2 separate regions of the Homo sapiens genome follow, and region 2 is linked to region 1. The links are contacts of gene promoters, found by promoter capture Hi-C in blood cells and fetal thymus (Javierre and others, 2016). All regions are on one chromosome and are shown on one strand. Each heading gives the region's core, a stretch centred on a gene start or on the middle of the fragment in contact. The rest is flanking DNA. Distances are from core to core; before and after follow the strand shown.

Region 1 (6,684 bases), core at 2,651-5,150:
TGTAATTCTTTCTCTCAAGTATATGTATTCAAATATCTGAACAAGTTTGAATTCTACAAAAGAAGGTCTCACCTCTCTCCTCAACCCTGTTGTGAAGTTTAATGTGATAAATTTAATGCATCTACTTAAACTTGATTCTCCATACAAGAATGTTTGCAACTTTTGATTGCCTTTTAGAGTCATCTTCTCTTGACCATCTATATTTAAATATTGATTAGGAAGCACAGGACATGAGACTAGGTTCTGGTTTTGACACCATCTTTCAATCAATTATTTTTATCCTGGTATAATAAAAATAGCATTTTAAAAGAGTATACCTCCTTGAGATATTTTTATTTAGGTGATTTGTTTGTGTGAGAGTGTGTGTGTGTGTGTGTGTGTGTGTGTGTGTGTGTCAGGAAAGACAAGTTATATTGCAGAGGCAGTGAGAGCTTATTGAGCTATGAATGTGGTATGCAGAAGAAGTAAGTCACAATTCACACAGGCACTCACACACTTACATAGGTACCTTAAATATCCCCATTGGACTGAAAAAGATAAATGCTGCCATTATCTTTATCTTTATTATTGGTAAACAAGGAGCTGACATTATCTATAAAAACCATATTCCTTAACTGTATTTTTATTGAGATTCATTGGTATAATTAAAACTTGAATGGACTGAAATATTTCAGGAACCTGCAGTGAACACTCTTTCCTTTATCTGAAAATGTAGTTTATTTCATCTGAAATTGTTTTCTATAATTTCCCTCTCCACCCATAAATGACCTTCTTTTTATACTCATGGATATACTCACTTATGAACCTGTAGACTATACACTTCACAGAAATAGGAGAAACCATAATGTTCTCCTGGCACTGAGGGAATATCAATGGTATTCTAAATGAGGAACTATTAACTTTTTATTACAATAATGATTTTTTAGTAATTTCCATAGTTTGAAATGTGGTTAGGATGCTACTGGCAGTTGAAAGCTGACAACATGATTGAATAGTTTTAACATGATCTGGTGTTTGTTACAGTGCTTTAAAATTTTAAATATTATCATTCATGTTATAATGTTATCCAGTGATAGTCAATTAGGCCAAATCAGTGGTAATTTAGTGTTATATCACAATTTATTTGGACTCGAGTTATAGATTGACCATTGCTTTGTGAGTTTTCTTAGCCATTCTGTTTTTCTGTATCTAATGTAAAATAACATTTTTTCTCCTTTTTTATTTACCAGGATGGTTATTCTACTGTTTCTAACATTAAAGGATCATCCTTGTATTTCTTTGTATTCTGTCATGGAGTAAAAAACATGTCTCATCTCAGTTTCCATTTCTCTTTTGCTCCCAGAAGTCCCCCCTCCTCCAGTGTTGAAGTAGAAATATAATTTCCCCTTTTGCACCATAAGCAGGTTCAAAAGTCCTGTGTTTCACCATGTTGCTCCAAACAGCAAATTTTCTAACCCACATGAAAAAAGAACACTACAGTTCTAACTTGGAATTCTACAAGGGTTTGAGAACAATTGAAAATAAATTTCTACCACTAGGATTAGTCCTTAGTGGTTCGCAGGCATTCTAAGCAGAGGGGCATGGAAGCTAGCTAGGGCACCAACCTGCTAGCAGATGCAAAGTTTGCTCTACTAAGAAGTTAGGCCTTTAATATCACAGACAATGGGAGGCAAAATGAAGACATAAAAAGGCAAGTAGCAAGCAATTCAGTAGGCTAAGCCAGGGATTTGAGAGTCTCCCAAGGCTCCTCCCTTCCTCATTCCCTGCATGAGTCATTTTTCCAGTCTGTCCACACCCATTCACCCCTCCATCCCACACTCTCATTCACCCTCCAAGCTGCCGTCACAGGAACTTTCTGCAATACAAGTCCAGACTCCATCTCTGGCCCTTGCTGCCTAAACTTTCCTAGTTCATTAGTTTTGGCAGTAAAGTTGAGACTCGTTAGATCAACACAGACCTACTTTTAGTGTCATCTCCTGCCACTCTCCTGTACTACCCTACCCTCGCTTCTCACAGAAAGGCTGAGAAGGCTGGCAGACCCCTTGTATATACCCTGCTCCTTTCGTTTTCTTTGAGACAGGGTCTTTTAATGTCACCCAGGCTGGTCTCAAACTCCTGGCCTCAATCCTCCCTCCATGGCCTCCCAAAGTGCTGGGATTACAGGTGTGAGCCATGCCATCCAGCCTGCCCTGCTCTTTTCTCTTCTCCACCTGGACTCTACTCCCTTTTGATCTTGCCAACTTCTACACACCTTTCAAGGCACCAGTTAAATGTAAATCCTCCAGGAACCCTTCCTTTGCCATCCTCAGAGCCCTCATTGGATTGCTTCCCACATACAGCACTTATCCCTTATGCAGAATTAATCGGTTTGTCTCTCACCTACTAGAGGCGTTATCCTTGAGTGTAGGGACTGTCTTATCCATTCTTGCATCACTGGCATAGTAGGCACTAAATGTAGTTGCTGAATGCTTAATAAGAGGAATGGAAGTCTTCGTAGCTTGGGGTAGATACTAATGGGCAGATAGAAAGTTCCCATCCCTGTTCTCTGAGAAAGTGTCAGTGTTCTTTTAGTTTGCTTAAACTGTGTGGGTACTTGAGTCCTTTTAAACGATTAACGCTGGGAAGAGGCACCATTTAATTAATTAATTTGTTCTGGAAGGGATCAGTGTACAATTTTAACTCAGTGCTTTGTGGATCTAGCTAAAGGTCAAGAACTAAAGTCGGCTATTAGTGCCTCTGGAAGATATTTCTGCACTTTAGCACCTTTCTGATGTTTTTCCTTCACCTCGAGCTGGCCTCACTCTCTTCAACAAAACCGAACCTGCAGGAAGAATGTTGTACCATATCCAGCATTTTTGTCCCAACAAACATGGGACAAACGTTTTTCACTAGAATCATCCTTGAACAAGTTATCCGAATTCCTTACATTCAAAGGAAATCCTGCCCCCAGTCTCCAAAACTTCATCACATCACAGACGTTCAGGATTCTTTCCATTCAAAGCAAAGCCAAGTTACATCTTATAGCACCCAGTGAATTATGATATGGGGCTGCGGTTTATTTGCTCTGGCGACAATATGGCTTACTTGCCGTGGAATATCCCGGTATTTCAGAAGTAACATATTATTTTTAAAGAGGGAGCTTTGCTTTCTCTAAATCACATGGTGCAAAGTTGGGAATACAGTGGCCTGTAAATTACAAATATTATTTACAAACTAGAAGGAAAGCTGACATGTGTTTGTGCCTGTGTGACAGTTTCACTAAGGAATTCCAAAACTGTGGATAGCCTGTTACTTGAGAAAAATACACGGTGGCAGTCTTGCAGATGTTTTTCCCGCCTGTTAGCCCTCCAGGTTCAAAAACTGTTTGGTGCATTTTAAGGCGGCAGTCTCACCAGATCGCAGGATTCTAGTCTAATTGGCTTCTAACCTTCAATCTAACCTTGCCGGCTTCCTTGCAAAGCCCGGTGCAAGGGCCTCTTTCAAAATGAACCCACTGGTGTGCCTAGCAGTCGGTAGAAGAAGCGGGAGGGCGTCCGGTCTGCACGCCCGCCGCGAGGTTACAATGCTGAACGCATGAGATGGAAGATACCAACGGGAGGCCGAGGGGATCCACGGCGCCCGCGCGGGCTCCGGCTTCCTCCTGCTCTCGGCGCCGCTGGGCGACCGCCCATGACCCGCTCTTGCGGGCTCTGTCCGGTTGACAGGCGACCCTGTGGCCCGGGGAAGCGCGGGAGGGCGCCGGCGGAAAGTTGAAGAGCGTTTTTCTCGCCGCCGCGTGCATTAGGAGCTCGACGAGTCCGCCCTGGGCTTCCTGGTGGGGCTGGGCGGGCGGGGGAGGGGCCGCGCAGCAGCAGCGGAAGCCAGACCTCGGCGATAAGAGGCTGCACAGCGACATGCAACAGTCTTTTCACTGCAGCTGAATGAGTTGTGGCGCCCACAATGCTCCCATGACAAGGAGCTGACAAGTTCCATTTTCCGTCGCGGGCATCTTGGAATCATGACTCCCACAATGCCTTGGGCACTTGGTCGACAGTGGGGCCGCCTCTGAAAAAAAAATGTGAGAGGTAAGTTTCCATTTTCACAGTTTCCCCGCGCCGCTTCATTGTTCGGACTCCGGCGGGTCTGCCCGTGGCTGAAGGAGGAAGTGCGAGGAGGTGCTCGCCGGCCGCGGTTCTCCCGGGCAGGGGCGGGCCGCTCGCGGTAGTTGGTTTCGCGTCCCTCAGCACCTCCTGCCCGGGGGAAGGCGGGAGGGTGAGCCGCAGCCGCTCCTGCGCCCTTCCCTGCCGCGGGCTCTGCGGACGCTGTCACGGCACAGCCCGCGCACGGCTTGGCAGCCCAGCGGGACCCAGGGAGAAACAGGGGGGCGAGAAGAGAAACAGGTGCGTGCAAGTGTACTCACAACTTAATGACCTTTGTCGGGGGAAGGTGTGAGTCCCTCTGAGTCGAGCGGCGCGCGGGTCTTCCCGGCGGCTCCCGCATCCCTGGCCCCGGGGCTGCCATCCCGCCCGGTTTTCATCTGGGCCAAATATGTGCACGCAAAGGTTAATTCTCTGCTTGCTACCCATAAATTACGCATGACATGTTTAGCTGGGCTGCCTTATATGGAGAGTGCTGTATTTCAGGCCAGTTTGCCTTTTGCCAAGTTTACAGGGCGGAAGACGCCCTGTAGGAGAGGGCTGCCTCCTCCTTTTCTTCTTCTTCTTTTTTTTTTCATCGTTTTGTAGTGCGTCACTCAAAAACTGTAAGAAAAGTAAGTATAGAAGCTCTTTGGGTGGAGCCGCAGTTGGTTGAATTGCTTTCATGAAAGGTTGAAAAGAATGAAAAGTAGTTAGTACTTGGGTTCTGGTTTTTAGACAAAAGCAGGACAAATATGTAGCCACCCCCCAACTTTTTTTTTTTTTTTTAAACGGAGCCGGAATCTGTTATTGGTAGTAATGTGTCATGTGAGAATACTTTGATTCCAGAGCCTGTAACACGAGCAGGTATATGGTGGCGCTTATGCCTTCCCCTCGCACAGCACTTTACAACTACAGGGGTGTTGCTGCCAGAGTAATATTGTATTCTTAAGGCTCTCTGGGGCCGGGAGAGTATGCGGCTGTTGGGATTCTGGGGTGTATTTCCGTGGAGTATGTCTCCCCAGGATTAAAGTTAAGAAGCTGCCGGAAAGGTTGTTGCCGCTGACTTCACTTTGTGTGCCCACCAGCACAGGCACAAGTCATAGCAGATGGATGGCAAACTCTGCCATATACTCTGAGGAGTTTCTTAAATTAATACGCTAGGAGAGAAGTCATAATTAATGCTTTTAGACTTTCGAGCCCTCTGCAGCGTGCTTTGAAATACTACACCGGTGGACACTATGTCCCTTCCTCCTGGGTTTGAACACAGTGTCTGTTTATACACAGAGGGTGTTTAGTACCTAAGTATTCTATACCAGCACAAGAGAGCCACTCCACAGTTATCTCTCTGTGTGGATTCCTAAGTGTGTTGGTGTTTCTCCTTGCTGTTGAGATAAAATATTATCACCCAGAGAGAAAATGAAAGTTCAACGACTGTAAAATTTATCCCAGGAATGTGCAGTTCAATACTTAGAATGTCTTAGATGTAGTTATAGATAGAGGCACTGAATAAGTTATTTTGTAGCCTGAGAATGCACATCGCTGTCACTTGTATCTTGCTTTCTTAAAGTTGGTGACAACTAAGGCTAAACTTCTTTAGAAAACCTAATGTTCTAGTTTTTATCTGTTTTGTGTATTTGCATGGGAGTTACTTTATTATTATTATTATATTGTTAGGTCTTCTTTGAAAATGTAGGCATAGCTTTTTTAGTCTTATTTGTTTAATGGGGGGTTTCCTTGCTGAAGACTACAAAAGTTGCCTTTTGTGTTTTAAGGAACAGGTTGGGTCAGCAACAGAAAACCTGTTCATCTATAATTATAGTGTCACTTAAGACATAATAATCAGATTTCATTATTACTAAGAGACTCAGAAAAACCTCACATATGCCTAGTTTAATTTTTTTCCTTATGTAACTGTGAACAAATTTGTGTGTAGATACACATCAAGTGTGGTACTCTGCGCAGTCATGCCAAAGAGAAACTGAAGTGTTATATGGTTTGAGATATTATTGCTTGTGTTTACATTTCCACATTTGAGGCAAAGTTAGACTCCAAGTTGAATTCATTAAATTTTGATTCCAACATTCTGTTCTTCCTTTGGGCACAGAATTCCTATGAAATGAAACACTGGGTTTTGTTCCAGAACAAGAACAGACTAACCCAAAATTTCTCCTGGGGGAAAAAAAAAGAGTAAAATTATATTTCTCATTGAAAATTGTATTTCTCATTGAGGAAGGGTGTGTTACTTTATTATATAAAATGCCTTATCTTCATTATAAGAAAAAAATGCCCTTGCATTTGTCACTGTTGCCATACATTAGGCCTGTATTTGATAGATCTATATGGAAACAGAGAATAAATAATCTTGCTGCACCTTCTGGCTTTCTGCTTGGTGATAGATGTGCGGATTAGAGAACATCTCAGGTCTTGGTTAGGAGAAGCTGAAAAGAATAGGTGATTGGGTTTTTAAAATTCTGTATGCAAAGGCATTAGGGTGGGTAGTAGATATGAGAGTCAAAAGAGTGGAGGAAAGAAGTGAAATAGGTTCACGAAGTGATTGGCCCAAAAT
Region 2 (6,684 bases), core at 1,564-4,063, 330 kb before region 1:
TGTGGAGACAGAGTGTGACTGGAAGAGGATATGAGGGAGACTTCTAAGATACAGTATTATTCTGTCTCTGGATATGGGTCCTGGGTTTTTTTTGTTTTGTTAAGATCTGTTAAGCTATACATCAATGGTCTTTGCATATGTATATGTGCATATACAATATTTCAATATAATTAAAACAAACAAAAATGTAATAAGAGAATCACTTGCTTTGATTTATTATGGCTGAGTACCACTAAAATAATAAGATTTGGAAATTTTAATATTTAGGTATTTGGGGACCTATCTCCATATATTGCCTGTATAAGATGAAAGCTAGTTATCTCTCAAATCTGATGGATTGATTTCATCTCAATTGGTTGTTCAAGGTGAATTATTTGGATGAAATAAAAATAAATCAATAAATACACACACATACGTTCACATGTATATGGATGTCTGTTTAGGAATTGTTAAAGTTCTGCTCTAAATATTTTTCGTTCCCACAGAATATTCACAGAAAACTTGATCCAGTTGAGGTTGCAAGTTTTAAACTTTAGCTCCAAGAGGCCCGCAAACATACTTTCTTGTATAAATTTCTGTGCATAGTAGTAGTATCTTCTACAGAAGGAATGGTGTTTTCTGCCAAGTTGAATTAAGTGCACAGAGCATGACTTTTCAGGGAACACTGTAACTATTGTATTACATGGTGAAAACACTGCTACTTATATTTTCACTGCAAAAATACAGTAGTCTTCAAATATATTCATGACTTACATAGAAAAGGGCTAGAATTCAGTAGCCCTAGCCAGTGTCAAAGTTCATTTTATACCATTTTATGAAAAATAGTAATTAATTTAAATCTCCAGATAAATGTGCCTATTTATATGTAGACATGACCTAGCAAGGAAAACTATATAACACAAGATGTATGATAGCAAGGAAGCAAGTCTTCTAAAAACTGGGTCTGATTCTGTAATCCACACAGAATCTTGTATGAATTAACTATCCAGGAAGGAAAACTAAGAGCTACATTCTAGTTTTCAAAGATAGAAAAAAGTCTTAGGAATCATGGGGAAGAAGAAACTGCTGAGATGTGAAATACAGTGGGTTAAAGAGTATTCTGTAAAAGACAATGTGGTAGAAGATAAATAAGCAGATTTATAATTTGTTCCTATGAACCTTCTCTACTTGCAACTTGCTAAAAGTCATGTTTTAATTAACTGGACAGGGATCCCTTTCTTCTCAGCATAGCTCCAAATATGTCCTTGGCATATTTAAAACTGCATAAAATAAGCAATAATGCCCTGACAATTCTGGCTTCAAAAACTGGCCATTTTATCCCTGAGTAGTTTTCCTGAAATGAAGGGCCAGCACTCTCAAGGCAGGCTTTTGACTCCTGTACCAAACTATAATTCACTTCTAACCTATAAACCCAGATAGAGAGTAGTGGAATGAAGGAGAGCTTTCTAATATCATATAAATCTATAAAATAGAGAGTCTTTGGTAGGAGCAAATACACATCATAAAATTATGTCCTCTACCTTTAGCAGCTGGGAAACATTACACACTACCACAATTCAATGGTGCCCTTTTAATTGCACATGCTTAAACAAAATACCGCATTATAATTACATTTGGCATTTCAAAGAGTCAAGAGTTCAAAACTGGAATGTGTTAGAATGAGAAAAATTATAACCAAATATCCCACATCAGGATGCAGCTTTTTGGACAAGCACAGTAATTCAGTTTCGGTATTTCATAAAAAGTGGTTTATTTCACTTTGCAATTTTCCATTTATTAGAAAATATCATTCATACAAAACAATATATAAATGCATATATTGACTTAAATAATTTTAGTAAATGATGCACCTATGTGTCCACTGCTGAGGTTAAGAAATAGAGACTGGCCAGTTTTTTCCAAATCCTCTATACATCTTCCCAATTATATCACCTTCCCATCCTACAAACAGAGGTTTTCGTCATTTTGACTTTTATAATAATCATCCCACGTTCTTTCGGCTTTAAATGATTTTACCACTTATGGATATATTTCTCCTATTTTTGAACCTTATGAATATGAATTCCTACACTATAATGTCTATGTCTTACTTATTTCATTCAATATGAGGTTTGGGTAGATTCACTGGGCAAAGCTCACATGTAACTGTCTCTCATTCAGTTTCCCTGCTGAACAGTGTTCCACCTTAAAACCAGTCTACAATGTATTTTCCATTCTACCATTGTCGGACATTTTGGTTATTTCCTGTAATATGTTATTAATTTTTATACATTTATTCCAGGAGTGAAATCCTTAGATCATATATTATGAGCATATTCAAACTTCCTATGAAATGTTGATCTATTTTTTAAATGTTTGGGCCAATTTATACATCATACCACCAATATTCATAAGTTCCTGTTGCTCCACATATATGCCAACATGACAGTGTCAGATTTAGTTTTTCACCTAAAGATTGGGTAAGACATGGTAACTCTTGTGGTTCTAACTTGCTTTTTTATTGCTAGTGAAGTTAGGCATCTTCTCATATTCCATAGTTTGAATGTAAGTGAGTAGAGTACAATGAGATATTTTGAGAGAGAGAAAGAGACCACATTCACCTAACTTGTATTACAGCATAACATTTAATTATTCTATTTTATTATTAGTTATTGTTGTGAATATATTACCCTGCCTACTTTGTAAATTAAACTTTATCATAGGTATGTATTTATGGGAGGGAAACATAGTGTGTACACACACACACACACACACACACACACACGGTTTAGTAGCATCCTCAGTTTCAGTCGTCCACTAGGGATCTTGGAACATATCCCCTGAGGATAAGGGGGAGACCACTGTATTGAGAATTTTGTGTTTCTTTTGAATTGTTAAACATGTTAGTCTTTGTCTTGCTTTTTTGTTCTGGATACTTCTTTTTTAGGAACTTTTAAGTATAAAATCAGCTTCTTTAATAGACAGAGGACTAGTTGAGTTGCCTATTTATCTTGAAATTCTCTGTTATTATTCTTTTGATATCTTTGGATTTTGTAACGAAATCCTCTCTCTCTTTCCTAGTATTGGTAATTTACATCCTCTATTTTTTTCTTTGTTAATCATTGTAGATATTTATTAAGTTTATTGGTCTTGCTTTTTTTTTTTTTAAAGCACAATTTAAAAAATTTGTTCATTGGCCAGGCGCGGTGGCTCACGCCTGTAATCCCAGCACTTTGGGAGGCGGAGGTGGACAGATCACGAGGTCAGGAGATCGAGACCATCCTGGCTAACACGGTGAAACCCCGTCTCTACTAAAAATACAAAAAATTAGCCAGGCGTGGTGGCGCCGCCTGTAGTCCCAGCTACTCAGGAAGCTGAGGCAGGAGAATGGCGTGAACCCTGGAGGCGGAGCTTGCAGTGAGTTGAGGCCTGGCCACTGCTCTCCAGCCTGGGGGACAGAGAGAGACTCCGTCTCAAAAAAAAAAAAAAAAAAAAAAGAAAAGAAAAGAAAAAGAAAAATTTGTTTATTGTTTTCTGTTTTCAATTTTAACAATTTCTGTTCTTATATGTATTACAAGATGCATTGCTTAACGACAGGGATATGCTCTGAGAAATGCATTGTTAGGCAATTTTGTTGTACAAACATCAGAGTGTATTTACACAAACCTAGATGGTATGACCTCCTGCACATCTGATATAGCACTAGGCTATATGGTATGCCTATTGCTGCTAGGCTACAAACCTATACAGTATGTTGCTCTACTGAATACTGCAGGCAACCACAACAGAATGGCACTTGTGTATCTATGTTTAGATACACAGATATAGCAAAGTTCATGCAATGCACTGGGACCTACAATGTCAACTAGGTGATAGGAATTTTCCTGCTCCATTATAATCTTTTGGGACTACTGTCGTACATGCAGTCCATCATTGACCAAAATACTGTTGTGACACATAACTGTATTTTCTTCTGCTTCTTATTTTACTATTGTTTTTATAGTTTCTTATACCGGAAATTGAGATTACAGAGACTTTCCTCCTTTTATAATGTATGTATTTACTGTTACACATCTTCCCTTTGTGCATTGCTTTAACTAAATTTGACTTAATTTGTTATGTTGCATTTTCATTCAAAATGTGTTCTAATTTCTCTTGAAACATTTTCTTTGACTCATATTATTTTGAATCATGAGCTTTAATTTTCAAATATTTGAAGGTTTTGTTTTTTTCTTTTGTTATTTATTTCTAGTATAATTCCATTATGGTCAGAGAACATACTTTGTGTGATTTCAATTATGTTTGTTAATGTGTGACTATGAGCCAGAATATCATCTATCTTGATGAATATTCCATGTGTCCCTCAAAATAATGTGTATTTTGCTATCTTTGGATAGAATTCTATAAAAATCAAGTAGATAAAGTTGGTTGATGGCATTGTTTTGTTCTTCTATATCCTTGCTAACTCTGTTAACTAGTCCTTTCTGTTACTAAGAAAGAAATGTTGACTGTCCAACTATATTTGCTGATATGTCTATTTTTTCTTTCAATGCTGTAGGTTTTTGCTTTGTGTGTTTTGAAGATCTGTGGCTTAGCTCATATAAATTGATAATTCTTATGTCTTCTTGGTAAATTAAGCCTTTTTATTATGTAATGTCCATCTTTATTCCTGGTAATCTTTGCTCTGAGTCTGCTTTGTGATATTAACATAGTCATTCCAGTTTTTGTTTGATTAGTGTTTGTGTAGTGATATGGTTTGGCTGTGTCCCCACCCAAATCTCATCTTGAATTCCCACATGTTGTAGGAGGGACCCAGTAGGAAGTAATTGAATCATGGGGCAGGTCTTTCCCGTGCTGTTCTAATGATGGTGAATAAGTCTCACAAGATCTGATGGTTTTATAAGGGTAAGTTTCTTCGAACAAGCTCTCTCTTTGCCTGCTGCTATCCACATAAGATGTGACTTGCTCCTCCTTGCCTTCTGCCATGATTGTGAGGCCTCCCCACCCATGTGGGACTGTAAGTCTATTAGACCTCTTTCTTTTGTAAATTGCCTAGTCTTGGGCTCATCTTTATTAACAGTGTGAAAAGGACTAATATATGTGGTATATTATTTTTCATCATTTTACTTTTAACCTATCTGTGTAACTATATTTTAAGTGGCTCTCTTTGCAGCATATAAGTAATTTTTAAAATCACTCCAACCATCTCTGTCTTTTAATTGGTGTGTCCAGACCATTTATGTTTAAATTAATTATTGATGGGTTTAGATTTAGGACTATCATTTTATTTTCTGGTTTTGTACTTATTCCCCTTATTTTATATTACTCTGTTTCCTATTTTAAGTCTTCTTTTGGGTAAAAGAATTCAAGATAAGAAGACTAACTTATTACATTTGCTTTGGTCTGAATATTTGTTTCCCCTCAAAGTTCACATGTTAAAATCCTAACCCCCAAGGTGATGGTTTTAAGAGGTAGGATCTTTGGGATTTGATTAGATCACAAAGGTAGAGCCCTTATGAATGAGATTAGTGTACTCTTATTTTAAAAAAAGGCTTAAGGGAGGTTGTTTGCCACTTCCATCATGTGAGGATACACTAAGAAGGTGCCATCTATGAGCCAGGAAACAAGCTCTTAGCAGACACTAAATCTGCTACCCCTTGATCTTGGACTTCCCAGTCTTGAGAACTCTGAGAGATAAATTTCTGTTGTTTATAACCTACCCTGGTTTATCGTATTTCTTTAGAGAAGCCCAAATGAACTATGACAACTTTTCATTGAAATGTTGCTCTTTCTTTTCTTCTCCCTTAATTCCTGGAGTTTCAAGTGTTTTGTTTCAGAAACAATTTCCCTTCTATCTAAAAACCTTCCTTTAGAAATTCTTTTAAAGCATGACTGATAGATACAAGTTCTTTCAGTTTTCTTTCATCTGAGGACATTTTTAATTTTATATCTAAATGAAATATCCTATCTAAATGAAATATCCTTCAGTAGTGAGAATTTCACTACTGAAGGATATTTCATTTAGATATAAAATTCTGGATTAAACATAATAAAACATTTTCTTAATTAGGAATTGACAGTTTTTTCTTTCAGCATTTCTTCTTGTCTGCCATGATTTCTGATGAGAAGTATTGAAGTTTCTAAATCATTCTTCCCCTATAGTTAATGTGTCACTTTTCTTTGGCTGCTTTAAGCACTTTTTCTTCGTCTTCGGTTTTCAGCAGTTTTATTATGATATGTCTGTGCATAGATTTCTTTGAGTTTATCCTATTTGGGATTTGCTTCACTTCTTTTATACATTTTCTAAAAAATAAAGTTTGGAAGATTTCTGTCATTATTTTTTATTTTTTTCATCATTACCCTATCTTTCTGAAACTCCAGTGGCATGGTTAGATCTTCAGGTATCATCCTGTTGGTCCTTGAGATTTTGTTCTTTTGTAAGTTGTTTTCTTTGTCTTGTTTCGGTTAAATGAGTTTTTTCTCCTGATCCGTCTTCAAGTTCACTGACTCTGTGCTCCGTTATCTCCATCCTGCTGTTGAACTCAGTGAGATTTTTATTGGAGGATAGAAGAAGGTGTTTATTGTATTTTCCCATCCTAAAATTTCAGTTTGGTTCTTTATATCTTTGATTTCTTTGCTAAAGCTTTTTGTTTAACCTTTGTTGCAAGAGTGTTCACAATTGCTTCTGGAAACATTTGTATAATA

What was found. Contacts are between HindIII fragments. The CHiCAGO score rates a contact against its expected background, and 5 or more counts as called.
Region 2: a contact is called between a fragment that was not itself captured here and the fragment with the promoter of MBNL1 in region 1, in 1 of 17 cell types (neutrophils). The highest score is 5.6, in neutrophils.

What each region holds. Positions count from the first base shown.
Region 1 is chr3:152,265,029-152,271,712 of GRCh38, forward strand. It overlaps MBNL1 (muscleblind like splicing regulator 1), which reads left to right and starts at 3,901. Exons shown (of 10, transcript NM_021038.5): 1 at 3,901-4,064. It overlaps MBNL1-AS1 (MBNL1 antisense RNA 1), which reads right to left and starts at 4,598. Exons shown (of 2, transcript NR_027038.1): 1 at 4,400-4,598; 2 at 1-4,044. RefSeq lists enhancers at 3,104-3,946, 3,389-3,488, 3,947-4,788 and silencers at 3,679-3,738, 3,789-3,838, 4,239-4,348. The HindIII fragment of the contact is 10,088 bases long and covers 1-6,684 here.
Region 2 is chr3:151,940,047-151,946,730 of GRCh38, forward strand. The region is part of intron 1 of LOC107986047 (a long non-coding RNA gene); the gene reads right to left. Among named protein-coding and RNA genes, the nearest start is that of AADACL2-AS1, 15 kb to the left of the region's middle. The HindIII fragment of the contact is 7,614 bases long and covers 1-6,620 here.